Linked DNA regions of Homo sapiens: region 1 is linked to region 2. Evidence: promoter capture Hi-C in human tissues and cell types (Jung and others, 2019). All regions are on one chromosome and are shown on one strand. Each heading gives the region's core, a stretch centred on a gene start or on the middle of the fragment in contact. The rest is flanking DNA. Distances are from core to core; before and after follow the strand shown. Region 1 overlaps DGKG (diacylglycerol kinase gamma). Region 2 holds the start of AHSG (alpha 2-HS glycoprotein).

Region 1 (5,473 bases), core at 2,414-4,913, 290 kb before region 2:
GGAAATGAGAGACCCACATTCCTGGGGACATTAAGTTCTAGTCTCTCGCCCTGAGAAGTCCAACTCTCTCCTTAATCCAGCCAGCTCGACTCTGCTCCTTGGCACATGCTACTGTCAAGGTCATCAGTGACCTAGCTGCCAAATCCAGCAGGCACCTTTCAGTCCTTCCTCGGCTTGTTTCTCTCTCTGCAATCTTTCTTTGCCATGGCAGAAAACTTCCACCTAGAGACTCTCTTATGTTTCTGGGTGTTTCTTGTCAGTCTCCTTCAGCCTCTTCTTTTGCCATCTTTAAATATTGAAATGTTTCCACAGCAAAGATATAGAATCAGCCTAAATGCCTATCAGTGGAAGACTGGATAAAGCAAATGTAGTACATATACACCACGGAATACTACACAGCCATAAAAAAGAATGAGATCCTGTTCCTTGCAGCAACATGGATGGAGCTGGAGGACATTATCCTAAGTGAACTAATACAGGAACAGAAATCCAGATACAGCACATCTTCACTTATAAGTGAGAGCTGAACACTGAGAACACAGGGACACAAAGAAGGGAACAATAGGTACTGGGGCCTACTTGAAGGTGGAGGATGGGAGGAGGGAGAGAACTGAAAAACTACCTACTGGGTACTATGCTTATTACCTGAGTGACAAAATAATCTGTACAGCAAACCCCCGTGACATGTGATTTACCCATATAACAAACCTGCACAAGAACCCTTGAACCTAAAATAAAAGTTAAAGAAAAAATGGGCACTTCCAAAATCCTGTCCTCAGCCCTCTTCTCACTCTACATCCCTTCTCTGATGGACCTCATCCACCTCCAAGCTTTAATGACCCCCGGCATGCTGCGGCAGCCCTGAGCTCTCTCCTTGGTCTGAATCTGAATATTCAGATATTCAGATGCCTTAATCCAGATCTGTATATCCAACCATCTACTGTGACTCCCTTGTGTGTCCCAAACCACCCCTGATCTGCATCTTCCAGTGTCCCCAGCCGCTCGGGTTATGCCCAAGAGAAGCCAGTGCCCAGGTCAGAGGCAGGAGGCTCAGCTAAGCTCCTCCCCTTTTCTCTCCTGCCAAACCCAGGCACAGCTCCGGAGTTTGACTGTCCACTGTGTGCTCCCTCTTGTCCACCACACCAGCCCTGGCATTAACTCAGACCTTCCTTATCTCTTGCCTGGCCTTTGACAACAGCCTCCTGCTGCTCTCCCTGCCTTGCGCTTTGTTCTCCTCCCCTTGGTCTGCTCTTTAAATTGCCAACCAGATCACATCTCTCTCGGTAATAAAATTCTTCAGTAGTTTCTACTGCCTGTAGAATAAGATGTAATCTTCTTTTCATGATACACAAAGCTCTTTATGATCTGGCTCGTGATGATCAATTTAGTACGAAAGTGAGGAGTATCCTTTAGAAACCTTTGCCATCGTGCCAGGGAATCTAGCATTGCAACCACTGTCACCGCTGCTGCTGCTATCAATGAATGGACCTGTACTTTACTCTGTGCTATATGCTTTATATACATTATCTAATTTAGTCCTCTTAATAACATGTCAATTCAATATTGCTGTCCCTGTTTTGCGGATGAGAAAAAAATGAGGTTAGGTATTTAGTAAACATGGTGAGGAGAAAGAAGGAGCCACTAGTGCTTCTGTTTAAGAATGCCTCCTGCTGGGTGCGGTGGCTTATGCCTGTAATCCCATCACTTTAGGAGGCTAAGATGGGCGGATCATGAGGTCAGGAGATCGAGACCATCCTGGCCAACATGGTGAAACCTTGTCTCTACTAAAAATACAAAAATTAGCTGGGTGTGGCCAGGCGCAGTGGCTCACGCCTGTAATCCCACCACTTTGGGAGGCCGAGACGGGCGGATCACAAGGTCAGGAGATCGAGACCATCCTGGCTAACACAGTGAAACCCCGTCTCTACTAAAAACACAAAAAAATTAGCCAGGCGTGGTGGTGGGTGCCTGTAGTTCCAGCTACTCAGGAGGCTGAGGCAGAAGAATGGTTTGAACCCAGGATGCAGACCTTGCAGTGATCTGAGATTGCGCCACTGCACTCCAGCCTGGGCAACAGAGTGAGACTCCGTCTCAAAAAAAAAAAAAAAAAAAAAATTAGCTGGGTGTCGTGGTGCATGCTTGTAATCCCAGCTACTCGGGAGGCTGAGGCAGGAGAATCGCTTGAACCAGGGAGTCAGAGGTTGCAGTGAGCCAAGATCACACCACTGCACTCCAGCCTGGCGACAGAGTGAGAGTCTGTCAAAAAAAAAAAAAAAAAAAAAGAATGCCTCCATGGCCTGGGCATTCTGCACACCTTCAGAAGCACAGAGGGAGATCTAAGAGGACGCATAGGCACACTGCATGACAGAACAACACTGAACTAAAACCAGAAGGCAGAGAATTTGAATCTGGGCTCTGCCCTTCTGAGCTATTTCACCCTAGACATATTTTTCATCCCTTGAACTTTGGTTTCTTCATCTAAAACATGAAGATATTAATGAAAAAGCTTACTGGGTTGGTGTTAGGATTAAGTGGGTTAATATATGCAACAAACATAAAAACAAAATCCCCACCTGGTGCAATGCCTGCACATAGCAAACACTCAATAAATGATTGTTATTATCATCCAGTTGCAAATACAACATGTAGCAATGTGGCTTAAACGATCAGCTGAAAAAAAAAAAAAACCCAAAATAACCCCATTAAAAAGTGGGCAAAGGGCACAAACACACTCTTCTCAAAAGAAGACAATACAAGTGGCCAACAAACATGAAAAAATGCTCAACATTGCTAATCATCAGATACATGTACATCAAAACCATGACTATTATTAAAAAGACAAAAACAGATACTGGTGAGGCTTTGGAGAAAAGGGAATGCCTATACACTGCTGGTGGGAATGTAAATTAGTTCAGTCACTATGGAAAGCAGGTTGGAGATTTCTCGAAGAACTTAAAACAGACCTCCCATGCAATGCAGCAATCCCATTACTGGGTATACATCCAAAGGAAAATAAGTAGTTCCACAAAAAAGACACGTGCACTCATATGTTCATCACAGCACTATTCACAGTAGCAAAGGCATGGAATCAACCTGGATTTATCCAATTTATCCATTTATCCAATGATGGACTGGATGGATAAAGAAAATGTAATGCACATATACCATACAATACTACACAGCCGTAAAAAAGAATGAAATCATGTCCTTTGCAGCAACATGGATGCAGCTTGAGGCCATTATCCAAAATGAATTAACACAGGAATAGAAAATACCAAATACCAAATAGAAAATATGTGAAAACCAAATACTACATGTTCTTACTTATAAGTGGGAGCTAAACATTGGGAACATATGGACATAAATATGGAAGTAAAAGACACTGGGGATTACTAGAGGGGGCAGGGGGAAGGGGCAAAGGCTGAAAAACTGAAAAACTGAAAAATTGGGTACTATGCTCACTACCTGGGTGATGGGATCATTCATACTCCAAAGTCAACATCATGCAATATACTCAGGTAACAAACTTGCCCCTGTACCCCCTGAATAATAGTTGAAATTTTAAAAAATCAGCTGGCAGTAGTCAAGTAGAAAGTTTCTAGTATTGTGCCACAGGTTTCTGAACTTGATCTGATACTGCTCCAGGTTGTTGTAATTTTGTAATTGCTCATCAACCCTTATCCACTAGTTTTAGCGTCCACTAATGATTATTGCCTGGATTAATTATTACAATGATACTGATTTTCTAATTCCATCATTCCCTTTATATTTGTTAGTTAGGAGTCTATTGTAAGTAAGAGCTTTCCCTTCTGTTATTTATATCAATTTATATGTCTACTATAAATAAAGATAAATTATAAATATATAAAGAATATATATGTGTGTATAAAAACTGCATTTATATATAATATATATTTATTTTCACAGATTCTTATTTTATTCTGTGGGTTACAAATCTGTTGCTATCTTCGACTCTCAGATTATTCCAGATTTGATCAGTGGAAGCTCAGTCAAGGTGGCGATCTGTTCTTTAGATATATCTCAGTCATTTTTTCAGCACATCCTTATTTTCTAGCACTACAAAATGTTTCAGGCTCATCTCGTACTTCCTCAGCTCAAGTGCTAAAATCAGTCATTTCTCTAAGGAGTTCCTTTGGTGAAGAATGGCATTTGAAGCCAAAGCTTGGGTACCACGTATGCTCACTGCTGCTGGGGTGTCATTGCTTCTAGGCCCTATCAAGGACAGAGCTAGAAAATAGATGCGTGTGCTGGGCGTGGTGGCTCATGCCTGTGATCCCAGCACTTTTGGAGGCCGAGGCGGAAGGATCACTTGAGCCCAGGAGTTTGAGACCAGCCTGGCCAACATGGCGAAGCTCTGTCTCTATTAAAAATACAAAAATTAGCTGGGTGTGGTGGTACATGCCTGTAGTCCCAGCTACTCAGGAGGCTGAGGTAGGAGAATTGCTCGAACCTGGGAGGTGGGGGTTGGATGTTGCAGCGAGCCGAGATCCTGCCACTGCACTCCAGCCTGGGTGACAGAGTGAGACACTGTCTTAAAAAAAAAATAGATGTATGTACACAGATACACACACACACACCCCTCATCTCTCTCTCTCTCTCTCTCTCTCTCTGTTAAATACCTTGAGTTCATACTTACACCTCCAACTCCAGTCCGACATTGCAAAGTCAATTGTAGCCTTCCCTTCCTTCCATATTTTTTAACTATCTTCTCTAACAAGCTTTGTTTCCATCATCTACAACATACTTATTTGCTTAATACACAGAAAGTAGTTTCAGAATTGCCAGTCCACACCTCTGTGAAAAACAAAATAGACTTCAAGATTTGTTTACAGTTCTATTGTTTTCAGGCAACGGCAAATCCTCAAAATGCTACTCTCAAAAGTTACGTAGGTTAGTTCTTTCTCACTCCCATCAGTTTCTGTTTGTATTTCATTTTAGGATGTTTTCTTCATATCCACTGATTCTTTTTCAGTATGGTTCCAAAGTCAAAACTATATAGAAAGATATATTCAGCCAGGCGTTGGTGGCTCACACCTGTAATCCCAGCACTTTGGGAGGCTGAGCCAGGCAGATGCTTGAGCCCAGGAGTTCTAGACCAGCCTGAGCAATATGGCAAAACCCCGTCTTTACAAAAAATACAAACAAAAAAATTCACCAGGCATGGTGGTGTGCATCTGTGGTCCCAGATACCCAGGAGGCTGAGGTGGGAAGATCACCTGAGCCTGAGGGATCAAGGCTGCACTGAACTATAATTGCACCATTGCACTCCAGCCTGAGCAGCAGAGTGGGATCCCGTCTCAAAACAAAAACAAAAAGAAAAAGATATACTCAGAGAAGTATCCCTCATTCCTCTTACTCTTTTCCCATCTCCTCTTTTCTATCTTATTCTCACTTACCCTTATAGTATCTAGTTTATACTTCCTGTGTTTAGTTTTGCACATGTGAGAAGATA
Region 2 (6,117 bases), core at 2,697-5,196:
TCCTTTTGACAAATTCAGGAACCCTGGTGCCATCCTTAGCTGCTGCTCTACTTTGGATGTTTGTCCCCCCACGTCTCATGTTGAAATGTAATCCCCAATGTTGGAGGTGGGGCCTAATGGGAGGTGTTTGGGTCATGGAGACAGATCCCTCATGAAGGGCTTGGTGCCATCCTGGTGGTAATGAATGAATTCCTGCTATATTATTTTCCGTGAGAGCTGGTTGTTAAAAAAAGAAAGAAAGAAAGAAAAAGCCGGGCATCTCTCCTCTCTCTCACCAAGAGCTTGCGCACGCCAGCTCTTCTTTGCCTTCCGCCATGAGTGGAAGCAGCCTATAGCCCTCACCAGAAGCAGATGCCGGTGTCATGCTTCTTGTACAGCCTGCGAACCATGAGCCAAATAAACCTCTTTTCTGTATAAATTACCCAGCCTCAGGTTTTTCTTTATAGAAACACAGATGGACTAAGACAGCTGCCATCTTGAGATTTCTGCCATCAGCCACACAAGGGTTGCACCCAGCAAGCACTGCCCGGCACCCTGCTGCCATCTCCTGGAGATTGTTGATCCTCTCCTGCTCCTTAGACTGTTGGGCCTGCTCTCCTTGACCAGTTCTAACAAGCCCTTGATATCCTCAATACACTATCAGCCATCATAGTGTGAATGGAATGAGGATTATTTTATTGCTGTGATGTGAGCCTCATAGAAAAATGCACAGAAAAGTAACTAAAATAATGCAGCAAAGGACCAGAAAATGGAGGAAATGCCTATCTCCTACTGATATGCAAAGAAGCTGGAGCCAGTTGGATCAAACTGACCCAAGATTACTCATGAGTATATGTATTCAGCACGTGAAGATCACTCATGAGTCCCATATACATTTGGCAAGTGAGAATCTTTTAAAGTTTAAAACTGGTGTCATCAGGCACAGGGAACTACCCATTGGCACTAATGCTACAGCCATCTTGGAAAACATACCAAAATATCATCTATTTTCTTCCTCATTTCCAGTAAGTAAATGGCAACATTTCTTTCTAAGGAAACTGAAAAAATCTAAGGGATCATTTTACTCAGCTTGATACCAAAGTTATTTTAGTTTATAAGTATTAGACATATGGAGTAGCTGTGATAAAAGCAAAGATATTCATAAATTACATTTTTAAAAAAGAATTCTGAGAGTGTTCACATATCTAAGTTCCCACAAAAGTCAGCATGAAAGCAGTAACAGAGGAAAAGAGAAAACAGCTGAGCTGACATCACACAACAGCTAAATGGAAGGGGGATAAATTGGCATAGCCAAATAGACTATTTGACTATAAAAATTAAGAGCTTTAAAAATGTGCAAATCATTAGAATCAATAATTTTACTTCTAAAAATCTATCCTGAAAAAAAGAATCAAAAGCCAAAGATTCCTAAATAAAAAAGTGTGTTTTTTTGTTTTTTTGTTTTTTGTTTTTTTTTTGTTTTTTTTTGTTTTTTGTTTTGAGACAGAGTCTCACTCTGTTGCCCAAGCTGGAGTGCAGTGGCACAATCTCCCCTCACTGCAACCTCTGCCTCCCAGGTTCAAGTGATTCTCCTGCCTCAGCCTCCCAAGTAGCTGAGATTACAGGCGTCCAGCACCACGCCCAGCCAATTTTTTGTATTTTTAGTAGAGATGGGGTTTCACCATGTTGGCCAGGATGCTCTCTATCTGTTGACCTCATGATCCACCTGCCTTGGCCTCCCAAAGTGCTGGGATTACAGGTGTAAGCCACCGTGCCTGGCCTGTAAACATGTTTTTAAGTCTACTTAATGACATAGGAAAATATTCAAGTTAAAGCAATAGGTGAAAAAATTTTAACAGCTGTATATGCAGTATAATCAAAATTATATTAAAATATTATTTTACATAGAAAAAAAGAAAAGATATAAATGCATCAAAACATTAACACTGTTTATCTCTGCATGATGAGATTGTGAATGATTTCTTTTTTGAGACAGAGTCTCATTCTGTTGGCTGGGCTGGAGTGCAGTGGCACTATCATAGCTCACTGCAACCATAGCCTACTCCAGGTCTTATGCTATCATCCTGCCTTCATAGTTGGGATTACAGGTGTGTGCCACCTTACCACACTTTATTCAATTTTTCTTTTTTTTGAGTCGGAGTCCCACTCCGTTGCCAGGCTGGAGTGCAGTGGCGCAATCTTGGCTCACTGCAACCTCCACCTCCTGGGTTCAAGTGATTCTCCTGTCTCGGCCTCCCGAGTAGGTGGGACTACAGGCGCGCGCCACCACGCCCAGCTAATTTTTGTATTTTTAGAAGAGACAGGGTTTCACTGTGTTGGTCAGGTTGGGCTCAATCTCTAGGCCTCGTGATCTGCCCACCTCAGCCTCCCAAAGTGCTGGAATTACAGGTGTGAACCACCGTGCCCAGCCCTTCAATATTTTTAAAGATTATATAAAGAAAAGCATAGCTTCCACACACAGTTCAGGAGTCAGGGCCCTGAGTGAAATGGAGTATAAGGTGATGGAAGATTGCCCCTGGCTTTGAGGATCATCTTGCTGGATGACCAGAGTTTGTTTTTCATCTGGAAGAATCATGGTCCCCCTCTTGGAGAGAACCTGGAGTCCTGGCCACACCTTCTGAGCTTCTGACATTAAGATTCGGTGTGGTGTGTGAGCAGCTGGGAGTAAATGTGAGAACAGTCCTGCCAACTACCTTCTCTGCCCCATCACCACTCACTTCACCTCCCTCACCCCGATTCTCACCCCAGAAAATCAATATTAAGCTTCCCTTTGGAGGGGCCCCTCTTCTTTCTTTTTTTTTTAACCAGTTTTTTTTTCTCTGAAGCAATATCAAACATTAGAACAAATTCACCCACACACAATGATGGCCTCTAAATATTTGAAGACCATGTTGGTCTCCATGAGAGGGCTTCTTTGCTTCAGACTAAACCAAACCAGGTCCTTGTGTGATATTTCCCAAGCCTCTCTTTATCCTGCCAACCCTCCTTGGATGTCACACTTGGAATTGTCAAGGGTCACTTAATAGGCAGTGCCTGGAGTCAACACTGGCCCTCTGTTCTGGCCAGAAAGACACACTGTAATTCTGCTGAGTCTGCAAAGAATGTTCAAGGGGTATTTGTGTCCGTAGCTGCTCGTGCAGCATCTCAGCCTGCGGTGTCAGACTCGAACCCAGAGCTGTGTCAAATGAGTCAGGACTCCCCTCTGCTGCCCTTGTGCACTGGCAGGGGCACTAGGTTACTAGTGCTAGGAGACTCTGGTCAGTGCCCATCTGTGCTGTCACATGCAGGGCCCTGGCAGTGAGGTCTGGAGAAGGAAGAGAAGGGGCAGGGAACCCCACACGTTTTGCTGGTCATTTCCCACCGTGGTCCTGCCACGGGAACCCCCTTCTTCCACCTCCATTCCCCACTTTAGGCAGAAACATCTCTCATCCTTTTTCTTTTCTCCAAGAATCTTCCCCCAAAATCTTGGCATCTCCTATACACATCTGTACCTTTGCTATATCTGTGGGCCTTGTTCTCCCTGTAGGACTCCTCTTGGAAAGCTAACTCCCCCTGACATTGGAGAATTTTATCAAATTGCTGAGTATCCTCCCTTCCCTCTCACAGACCCCATGGCATGCTCAGATCACAGTAGAAGACATTTCCTCTGCTGCCAAACCCATGGCACTCTGAGGCTGACTGTGTCCACCTCATTCCCTCAGCTGTCTTCTCTTTGCTGCTATTACCATGTTCCAAGCAGACTTTGGAGCATCTCCCCCACAGCAGCATGGACTTTGGCAGATTTCTTGGGGACCAGCGATGTCCTAACCTGTTTGCTTTTCCAGGGCTGATGTTTGCAGGGTGTTTTTTTTTTTCTTTTGAACCAAAGCAGAAATCATCCTGTATCCTTATGCAATTCTTCCGGCAGGCTCCAACAGATAAATAAAGCCCACCACCCTCCATGGGTCTACCTTTCCCAGCAGAGCACCTGGGTTGGTCCCGAAGCCTCCAACCACCTGCACGCCTGCCAGGGCCTCTCTGGGGCAGCCATGAAGTCCCTCGTCCTGCTCCTTTGTCTTGCTCAGCTCTGGGGCTGCCACTCAGCCCCACATGGCCCAGGGCTGATTTATAGACAACCGAACTGCGATGATCCAGAAACTGAGGAAGCAGCTCTGGTGGCTATAGACTACATCAATCAAAACCTTCCTTGGGGATACAAACACACCTTGAACCAGATTGATGAAGTAAAGGTGTGGCCTCAGGTAAGTGGACCTGCTGTCTATGAGCTGAAATAATGTGTACATGGAGCTCAATCAGGTGCCTCAAAAAATCACCATCACCCAGTGCAAATGAAACCACAGAGGAGTAAATTCTCTGATTTCTTCCCAGGAGTGAGGGAAGGGGCAGGCAGAGGGCAGGAGAGGAGACATTCTGTATGGCAGTCATGGGTGTCAGGAGGGAGCTGGGTGGGGTGTGAGGTGGTGTGCAGGAGAAAAAGTGCTTCAAATGGTAGTGTGCAGATCACAGACAGAAAGTGTAACTTGCTGGAAAAACTAGGACCCAAGAGACCAGCTCCTAGTTGCCAAGTTACCACTGGCTGAAAATCACGTATCTGTCTTTGGTTTGGTTTCTCTCTAACAAAGACTGAGAATGAATAAAACTAGCATCTGGCAGATGCCTACTATATGCCAGGCCCATTCACATAGATTATCTCATTTACTCTTTCCCGGTCCTGCCTCCTGGTGCTGTGTGGTACATATATTGTTCTTGTCTTACCCAAGAGGAGACCAAGGCTCTGTTGTGTGTGTGTGTGCAGTTTTTTTGTTTTTTGTTTTTGTCTTTTTTTTTTTGGTCCAAAATCATATAATTACTAAGTCTTCAGGCTGGGATTTGATTCCATATCTGTGTTCCTTCTTCTACACAAACTGCCTCCCAAAGAGAGTTACCCACATCCCAGAGAGAAGTCTTGGCATAAACACAATTCACCTCCTCACACACTAGACAGGAAACCAACGCAGCTTGAAGCCAGTGACAAGAAAAATCAAGCTGGAAATATGCCTCGGGGATCAGTCAAGAGATTTGGAGAGGTGGAAAGAAGCTGTCTGCCTACTGCCTGTTTTGAAATTAGATTTATTTCTGATTAAGGACAATTCTTTCAGCAAATATGTATTACAAGCCTTCCTTGGACAAGAACCAGAGATATTAGGTTGAACCATATAAAACTGCCATTTTTCTATATCAAAAGCAACCAAATATTGGCCGTTTTAATGGTTCAACCTAATACAGTGGTGAAAAAGGCACAATATGTGCCCACAAGAGCTTACAATCTAGGTTGGAAAATAAGGTCAACAACAGGAAGCCTGGACCGACTGACGACTGCCATCCGTCTCACAAAGAGACAAAATATTTGAAATCAGGATTGCTCCGGATGGATTTTAAGAGTGCTGCAGCCATATTAAAGCACAGTGGTGGTTAGGAGGAAACGCTGATCAAGTCAGGGGAAATGAACACGCAACACGCACATCTGAGGGAAAAGGTAATCATGAATGGGCATTGTGACTTTTACTAAAGGCAGAGCTTCAGAGTTGGTTCCCTTGAGAAACCCAGGTGTACCCGGTTCCTGTTCGCCAGAGCTGTGAACGCTTTCAGGCAGTCACTCTGGGCACACCTGGACATCATAAAATGCGGAGCTTCTCCCAGGGGAGGGGATGCTGAGGCTTCAGGTACTAGTGAATCAGGCAGAACCAATGAGAGGCAAACAGAGCTGGGCTGAGAGGAGAAAAGGCATACTTGTACCTTCTGGATTTTTCAGGCTTCGAAGACAAGATACAGAAACAGGTGAACTCACAAGAATATCTCCAAGGATTGTTGCAAGCTCCCTCGTGTCTACACTAGTGACATCCAGTTTCCTGTCAGAGGGAGACATGCCCTTCCCCATTATCGCCAGCAGGGGGAAGTAGAGAGCAGCATCGTTGCATGCCGGCACCTGCTGCACAAGCCAAGACAAAGGAAAAACCAAGGACAACAGCAGCAAAAACCTCTAGGAGGGAAAAGAAAACGGAGGAAGGAAGGAAAGCAAATAATGAAAAGGAAGAAAGAAAGAAGGAGAGGGAGGGATAGAGGAGATTAAAAAAAGAC

What was found. Contacts are between HindIII fragments. The study calls those that stand out against the background at their distance.
Region 1: a contact is called between a fragment that was not itself captured here and the fragment with the promoter of AHSG in region 2, in 2 of the 25 tissues and cell types used here (IMR-90 fibroblasts and stomach).

Annotation. Positions count from the first base shown.
Region 1 is chr3:186,321,844-186,327,316 of GRCh38, forward strand. The region is part of intron 1 of DGKG (diacylglycerol kinase gamma); the gene reads right to left. Among named protein-coding and RNA genes, the nearest start is that of DGKG, 38 kb to the right of the region's middle. The HindIII fragment of the contact is 3,991 bases long and covers 1,669-5,473 here.
Region 2 is chr3:186,609,114-186,615,230 of GRCh38, forward strand. AHSG (alpha 2-HS glycoprotein) reads left to right here and starts at 3,947. Exons shown (of 7, transcript NM_001622.4): 1 at 3,947-4,241. The coding sequence starts at 4,029. The HindIII fragment of the contact is 10,895 bases long and covers 1-6,117 here.